Regions from separate parts of the Homo sapiens genome. Here region 1 is linked to region 2. The links are contacts of gene promoters, found by promoter capture Hi-C in blood cells and fetal thymus (Javierre and others, 2016). All regions are on one chromosome and are shown on one strand. The core of a region is centred on a gene start or on the middle of the fragment in contact, and the rest is flanking DNA. Distances in the headings are between cores, read along the strand shown.

Region 1 (3,353 bases), core at 285-2,784, 1.0 Mb after region 2:
AATAGCTCAGAAATCTTTTTTCGGTATCTGGTCTCCTTTGTTGCAATAAGACAGCCCGTAAGCAATCTAGCAACCAGAACAGTTCAGTTCGGAGCAGGCTCCCGGGGAGATTTAGTTGTTAGAGTTCGGCAAGAAAGGTTTCACAAAGGAGCTGAGTTCTGGGGGAAATGAGAGGTGATGTGGCGGAGAGATGGATCCGGACGGGAAAATGTCTGGGAGGGGGTATACGGAGTTCATGAGAAGCCGGGGACAGTGAGAAAACTGCAGTCGAGTCCTGGAAGGGGTGAGAACGCCTGCGGAGGCGGGAGTCAGAGGGAAGTGGACAGCGCCGGCAGCCGGTTTACCTGGGTGAGAATCCGGCCCTTGTTGTGGTCAAACAATGGAGGCGTCCGGCGGCAGCAGCCTTCTGCGCTGGGTGCGCGAGGGGTTCCTCATCACCTGAGCGGGATGCTCGCCTCCTCTGCCGGACGCAGGGCGCCCTGAAAAACACACAGCACCCCATGCAGCCGGCTCCTCCGCAGCCGCCCGGCTCCCCGGTCCCCTGGCGCGGCCATGACCGCCTCTCCCGGGACCCGCCTGGAAGGGCTCCAAGACGCGGCTCCACGGGCGACGAGGGCGGCAGCGCTCCCCCTTCCCTCGGCTCCAACAACAATGGAGCCTGGCTCGGGAGTCCGGCTCCCGAGGGGCCTCGCCCGGCCTCGCCCTGCCCGCTGCCCAGCCCTCGCTCGCACCGGCCGCCATCTGCGCCCCCCGGCCCCGCTCCCCCGCACTGCGGGCCCGCGGCCGACCGCCCGAGGCCCGAGGGGCGGCTTCTCAGCCCGGGACCCGCCAGGCTGCGCGGAGCCGCTCTGACCTTCCCCGCCATCCCGAGGCCCATCCTCCGGGATGGGTTGTTTTTCTTTTCTTTAAGCCACTCCACCTCCTTCCCACCCCCAGCCCGCTCCCTGGCCCCCGGCCCCCGCCTCCCTCCGGGAAAGAAAGAAAGACTGCAGCCCGGCCGCCGAGAACTCACTCCAAGTGAGGGGAGTCAGCGCCCCAGGCCGCGGGCGCCGCGCACCCACCTCCCTCTCCTCAGGGACACCTCACAGGTGCGCCTCCGAGCCGCGCGCGCGCGCGCTCCGCACACCCAGACGCCTCCGGGGGACAGCGCGCGTGCGCACGCACGAGGCCGGGGAAGCCCCGGGGGAGCGGGGGCCGCACGCATGCGCGGCCACCCGGCCCGCGCCCCCACCGCCCGCCTCCGCCCCCGCCCCCCAGCCCCGGCCCGGTCGGGCCCGGCCATCCCCCACCCCAGCGCCCGGCGCGCGCGCTCCCGCTCGCCTCCCTCGCTCCTCCCCGCGCCCCCCCCTCCCTCGGGCCGCGTTACCCAGGGCAACCGCAGTGCGGCCGCACCTGAGCTGTGCGCCTGCGTCCCGCGGGCCCGACCCTCCCTTCCCCTCGGCCTTCGCCCCTGCCCCGCCACAGCCGGGCGGAAGGGGGCGTAGCCCCGCCTCGCCAAGTGAATATCGGCCCGCCGCCCCCGCCCAGCCCGGCAGACACAGGCCCGCCGCCGCGCCGGCGCCTAGCCCGCCGGGTCAGCGCGGCCAGGCCTCGCCGCCGGCCCCGCTCCCAGGGTGCACCGCGGCTAGCGCTGGGGTGGGAGCGGGCGAGATGCGCCGGGCGGGCGGTGCCCACTGACCTCCCTCGGCGGCCCGGCCCGGGCAGCGCCCGAGCCCAGGCAGCCCCGCCCGCCGCGCCCCGCCCAGCCCATGGGCCACGGGCCCCCACCGCCGCCCGCCGGGAGGACCGAGCCTAAGAGGGCAGCCGCCTGAAGGAACGCGACGGCGGCGCCCGCAGGTGAGGCGGGGCCCGGGGTGTGTCGAGTCCGGCCCCGCTCACCTGGCAGCGCCGGCGGGGGCGGAGGGGCCGGGCAGGGGCGGAGGGGCCGGGCAGGGACGGGAGTTCGTGGCGAAGACTTTAAAAACCCTCCCCGCCGGGAGACGGGGGACGGGGTCCTCCTGCCCCACCTCCGGGGCTTGGGAGCCACGTTAGCTCCCCCAGGGGCAGGGGTGGCCCCGGGCGAAGGCAACTCGGGAGACGGCGGAGTCGGGGAAAGAGGGTCCCTGAGGCTCGGCGACCCCCGCGCCCGCCCCCGCGGGGTCTGCCGGCCCTTTCTGGGGAGGGGGCTCCCCGGCCCGGGCTCCAGTCCAGGGTGCGGACCGGCCGCGGCGCGCGCCCACCCCAGTGCCAAGGGGGAGGAGAGGCCGGTCCCGGGGCGCTCCTGTCTGCCCCGGGGTGGGATCGCAGGGCGAGGGATCCGCATTGCAGGTGCACCAGGAGCGCCCCGGGGCCTAGCCCGGCTTTGTCTGGGATGCTGTGGGGAGGAGGCCGTCTGAATCCACATCGCCTTTTTAAATGCTTGTTACCACCCGGGGAACCTTAGAGACCCTCCCTGACAAGTTGTATCGCCTCCCGTCCTGGTAGCCTTTCCGTAAGTACACTACCTTGCCAGCCCCTTCCTGAAGCTTTGATGCGGCTTTAGTTTACTCTGAGTAACGATTTGCCTGTGATTCGTGAAACGGAGCAGAATGCACAAACGCAGCAGAGCTCCAGGCTTGGCTACTGGGCTGCCGTCTGCTACGGCGAGTGAGTTTCTCTAACTTAGGTTTTCATGCTGACCTGTATTGTTTCATTTCAAGTTTTGGTATTTAGCAGTACGATCTAGTCCACTAAGGAAAATTAGGCTGCCAGAGAGAAAATATAACCGCGCTCTGTAGCTTAGGTTGCAGTAGTCGGTTTTATAACAAAATGCAAGCTACCACGCTGTAATACTTTAACATATTACGCAGTTCCAGAAACCTGTAAGAGTATTAAAACTAGGATTGCCATTTTAAAACTTTTACGTTTGAAATTTATTTAAAGAGCATTGGTATTGATAAAACGACTTTTCTTTTTTTTTTTTTTTGCTCATCAAGAATTCCCATGCATTTTCTCGCTATTGCATTGTAAGGAAAAAGATGCTAACGTTTAAAGTGGCTTTTACCTCCAAAGATGTTTTGAAATGTATGTAATTCTTTTGGCTAACTGTTCATCTTATGTGAAATATGCTTGGAAGAAGGCTTTAAAACTCGTGATTATATATACGGGTATGCGTACATATCCATACACACCACTGAAAAATCTTAAAATAGTTTTGTTACTCCTCTGCGTATTATAATTACTCAGTAAATTTAGTTTAGGTACATTTAAGATCTAAAGTACAGGACAATTATTTGTGTGAGATTTTTACTGTGACACATTTTAAATACATCGGTCTAACAAATAGGGTTTTTTTGAAATTAGATATTTTTATTAACTCTTTAAAAAACGAATCA
Region 2 (3,492 bases), core at 191-2,690:
ACAAGCAAACAAACAAAAAACCCCATAGATTTGATACGCTAATTATGATTTTTTTAAACGTCATTCATTAAGGCCTTCACAGTGGCTTATGCCTGTAATTCCGGCACTTTGGGAGGCCGAGACAAACGGATCCCTTGAGCCCAGAATTTTGAGACCAGTCTAAGCAACATAGGGAGACACCATCTCTACAAAAAAATAGAAAAATTAGCCCGTCGTGGTGGTGTGTGCCTGTAGTCATAACTACTCAGGAGGCTGAGGTGGGAGGACAGGTCAAGGCTGCAGCGAGTGGTGATTGCACCACTGCACTCTGGCCTGGCCCACAGGGCGAGATCTCATCTCTTAAAAAAAAAAAAAAAAAAGTCGGGCGCGGTGGCTCATGCCTGTAATCCCAGCACTTTGGGAGGCCCAGGCAGGCAGATCACGAGGTCAGGAGTTTGAGACCAGCCTGGCCAACATGGTGAAACTCCGTCTCTACTAAAATACAAAAACTAGCTGGGGGTGGTGGCGGGCACCTGTAGTCCCAGCTACTCGGAAGGCTGAGGCAGGAGAATCGTTTAAACCCGGGAGGCAGAGGTTGCAGTGAGCCGAGATTGCTCCACTACACTCCAGCCTGGGCAACAAAGCCAGACCTTGTCTCAATAATAATAATAATGCATTGTTTCCCAGTGTGTTACAATGTGATGCGGTAATGGGAATTTAAAGTTATGTAATAGACAACTTTATTTTTTTTTTTTTGAGACAGAGTCTAGCTCTGTTGCCCAGGCTGAAGTGCAGTGGTGCAGTCTCGGCTCACTGCAACGTCCACCTCCCGGGTTCAATCAATTCTCTGCCTCAGCCTCCCAAGTAGCTGGGATTACAGACGCCTGCCACCAGGCCTAGCTAAATTTTTTTTGTATTTTTGGTAGAGACGGGGGTTTCACCATCTTGGCCAGGCTGGTCTTGAAATCCTGACCTCGTGATCCGCCCGCCTCGGCCTCCAAAAGTGCTGGGATTACAGGCGTGAGCCACCGCGCCCGTAGAGGCCTCCTTTTAGATCTTCCATCTATCCCTGTGATGGAAATATTTGGTGCCTTTTTAAAAGTACACGACTAATACGTTTCTTGTAGGAATATCAGAAAATACAGATGCGCAAACCAGGGTTGGGGGGAAGAAGTTTGGAGTACTGGGGGCGGGGTATATTTTAAAAGGTGGCAAAACACTTCCACTCCCAAGAAGCCAAATTAGTATCAGTAGATATAATTCATATTTAAACCCAGACTACCCCAAGCGAGAACAGCCCAGGACTTAAACTCCGGCCTCCGCTGGGACCTCAGGCCCCGCCTACTTCTCTAAATAGTCCCGCCCCCTGCCCGGCCCGGCTCCGCCTCTCCTCTTCGCTGGGTTTCTCTTGCAACCCCGCCCCTCAGCGGCAAAGTCAGTTACAGTTCTCGCGATAACACAACCCGGAAGTCTCACGGCCGGAGTTGGTGGTCTGGGAACCCACGTGGGCTGGGTTTCGGATTGCTCTGCTGGTCCGGCCGCTGGAGCGCCCACCCTGGCCTAGTCGCCATGGGGAAGCTGCGCCGGCGCTACAACATCAAGGGGCGCCAGCAGGCGGGCCCCGGACCCTCGAAGGGCCCCCCCGAGCCGCCCCCCGTGCAGCTGGAACTGGAGGGTAAGACATCCCCGGACCGGGGCTGGATTTCGGAGATTTCCCAGGGCGGCCTGTGCCCTGCCTTCAGGACTCTCGGGTGGGGATCCCAGAGGGGTGGGATGGATCATCTGGAATGGGGGAATGGGTCCCCCCATTCCAGATGATCCAAAGGAGAGGGGCTTAGTGACAGCCTAGTTTTAACAGTGTATATGGAATACCCGGGATTTCTCTCGCCCTCAAATAGTAACATGGAGAATTTGGCAAAAAAAACAGGAGTAGTTCCATCCCTTCCCATGACTTCGATTATAATCTCTTTATAATCTCCAGCGACCCCCAAATGTGTATTTTCAGCCCAGTCTTGTCTGCTCAGCTCCAGGCTGGCTGACATTTCTCTCAGACCCCTTTTTAGGAGTAGCCCTTATTACATGCCAGGCACTATTCTAGGCACTGGAGACATAGCAGAAAGGGAGATTTTTAGAAAATCCCTGAGTTTACCTGCTGTATAGGAGGAGACAGGCAAAGAATAAACATATAGAAATTTATGCGGCTATAGTGAGCAGATAAAACAGAAGAGGCCATTGGGTGGGTTGCAGCATCCCATAGAGTTGCTGGAGAAGACATCACTCTGTTAGAGTCAAGATCTGAAGGAGACCTGAGTGGCTGCCTGGAGATGAGAGAAAAAACAGGGGGCCAGGGCAGGTCGGGCCTGGACTGCAGTCTTGGCGAGGACTGGGGCTTTTTCTCTACGGGAGAGGGCAGCCATGGGAGCATTTAGAGCAGAGGAGGCGTGGTGGTGGGCACCTGTAGTCCCAGCTACTTGGGAGGCTGAGGCAGGAGAATGGCTTGAACCCAGGATACGGAGGTTGCAGTGAGCCAAGATCGCACCACTGTACTCTAGCCTGGGTGAGAGAGCGAGACTCCATCTCAAAAAAAAAAAAAAAAAAAAAAAAGTTCCACAGACAGGCTGGGAGTTGAGGCAGATCCCCTAACATCTCTGTGCCTTCGTTTTCACATCTGCAGAATGGGACCAGTAGCACACGTTGAGCAGCCTTAATCCAAAATACTCCAAAATTCAAAAGTTTTTGAGTGTCAACATGACACTTAAGGAAATGCTCATTGGAGCATTCCAGATTTCAAATTTTTAGATTAGGGATGCTCAACCAGTGAATAGAATACAGATGTTCCTAAAGCTAAAACAGGTCTGGTTCCTAGCATTTCTGGAAAGGGATATTTAACCTGTAGTAGCCGTCTTACCTCCTATCAGAGTTTTGGAGATGGTAATTTGGGAAAATATGTTGCTTTGAAAAGTAAAGAAAGGTTACAGAGGTGGGGTGTGTCCCAGGACAGGTGACAACCGTTATGATGGCAGTGACAATTCAGGATGGCACCTCAAAGACAGCCGTAGACACTGGGCTGACACTTGGAACTGGACCACCTGAGCAGAGGGGCTGAGGTCTCTCAGACCCAGAGATTTGGGGAAAGTTGTTTCTCACATCAGAACAGGACATTTCCATGTATCCCTGCCTTTCTCAGGGGCCAGAGGAATCTCATAAGAACATGACTCAGATTACCTTCTTTTATTTATTTATTTATTTGAGATGGAGCCTTGCTCTGTCGCCTAGGCTGGAGTGCAGTGGCGTGATCTCTGCTCACTGCAACCTCCACCTCCCGGGTTCAAGCAGTTCTCGTGCCTCAGCCTCCTGTGTAGCTGGGATTATAGGTGCATGCCATCACACCTGGCTAGTTTTTGTATTTTTTGTAGAGACGGGATTTTGCCATGTTGGCCAGGCTGGTCCCCAACTCCTGGCCTCAGGTGATTTTCCCAAAGTGCTGGGATTGCAGGCGTGCGCCACCGCGCC

What was found. The method cuts DNA at HindIII sites, captures the fragments that hold promoters and counts their contacts. A CHiCAGO score of 5 or more calls a contact.
Region 1: the fragment with the promoter of CCDC92 here is called in contact with the fragment with the promoter of DHX37 in region 2 in 1 of 17 cell types (total B cells); the score reaches 6.6 in total B cells.

Annotation. Positions count from the first base shown.
Region 1 is chr12:123,971,012-123,974,364 of GRCh38, reverse strand. CCDC92 (coiled-coil domain containing 92) reads left to right here and starts at 1,534. Exons shown (of 5, transcript NM_025140.3): 1 at 1,534-1,836. It overlaps ZNF664-RFLNA (ZNF664-RFLNA readthrough), which reads right to left and starts at 1,150. Exons shown (of 5, transcript NM_001347902.2): 1 at 1,062-1,150; 2 at 345-479. It overlaps ZNF664 (zinc finger protein 664), which reads right to left and starts at 1,150. Exons shown (of 5, transcript NM_152437.3): 1 at 1,013-1,150; 2 at 345-479. RefSeq lists silencers at 582-811, 922-1,001, 1,072-1,941, 1,972-2,091 and enhancers at 1,312-2,049, 2,050-2,787. The HindIII fragment of the contact is 3,963 bases long and covers 1-2,506 here.
Region 2 is chr12:124,987,079-124,990,570 of GRCh38, reverse strand. It overlaps DHX37 (DEAH-box helicase 37), which reads left to right and starts at 1,440. Exons shown (of 27, transcript NM_032656.4): 1 at 1,440-1,654. The coding sequence starts at 1,549. RefSeq lists a silencer at 1,527-1,736 and an enhancer at 2,977-3,492. The HindIII fragment of the contact is 16,586 bases long and covers 1-3,492 here.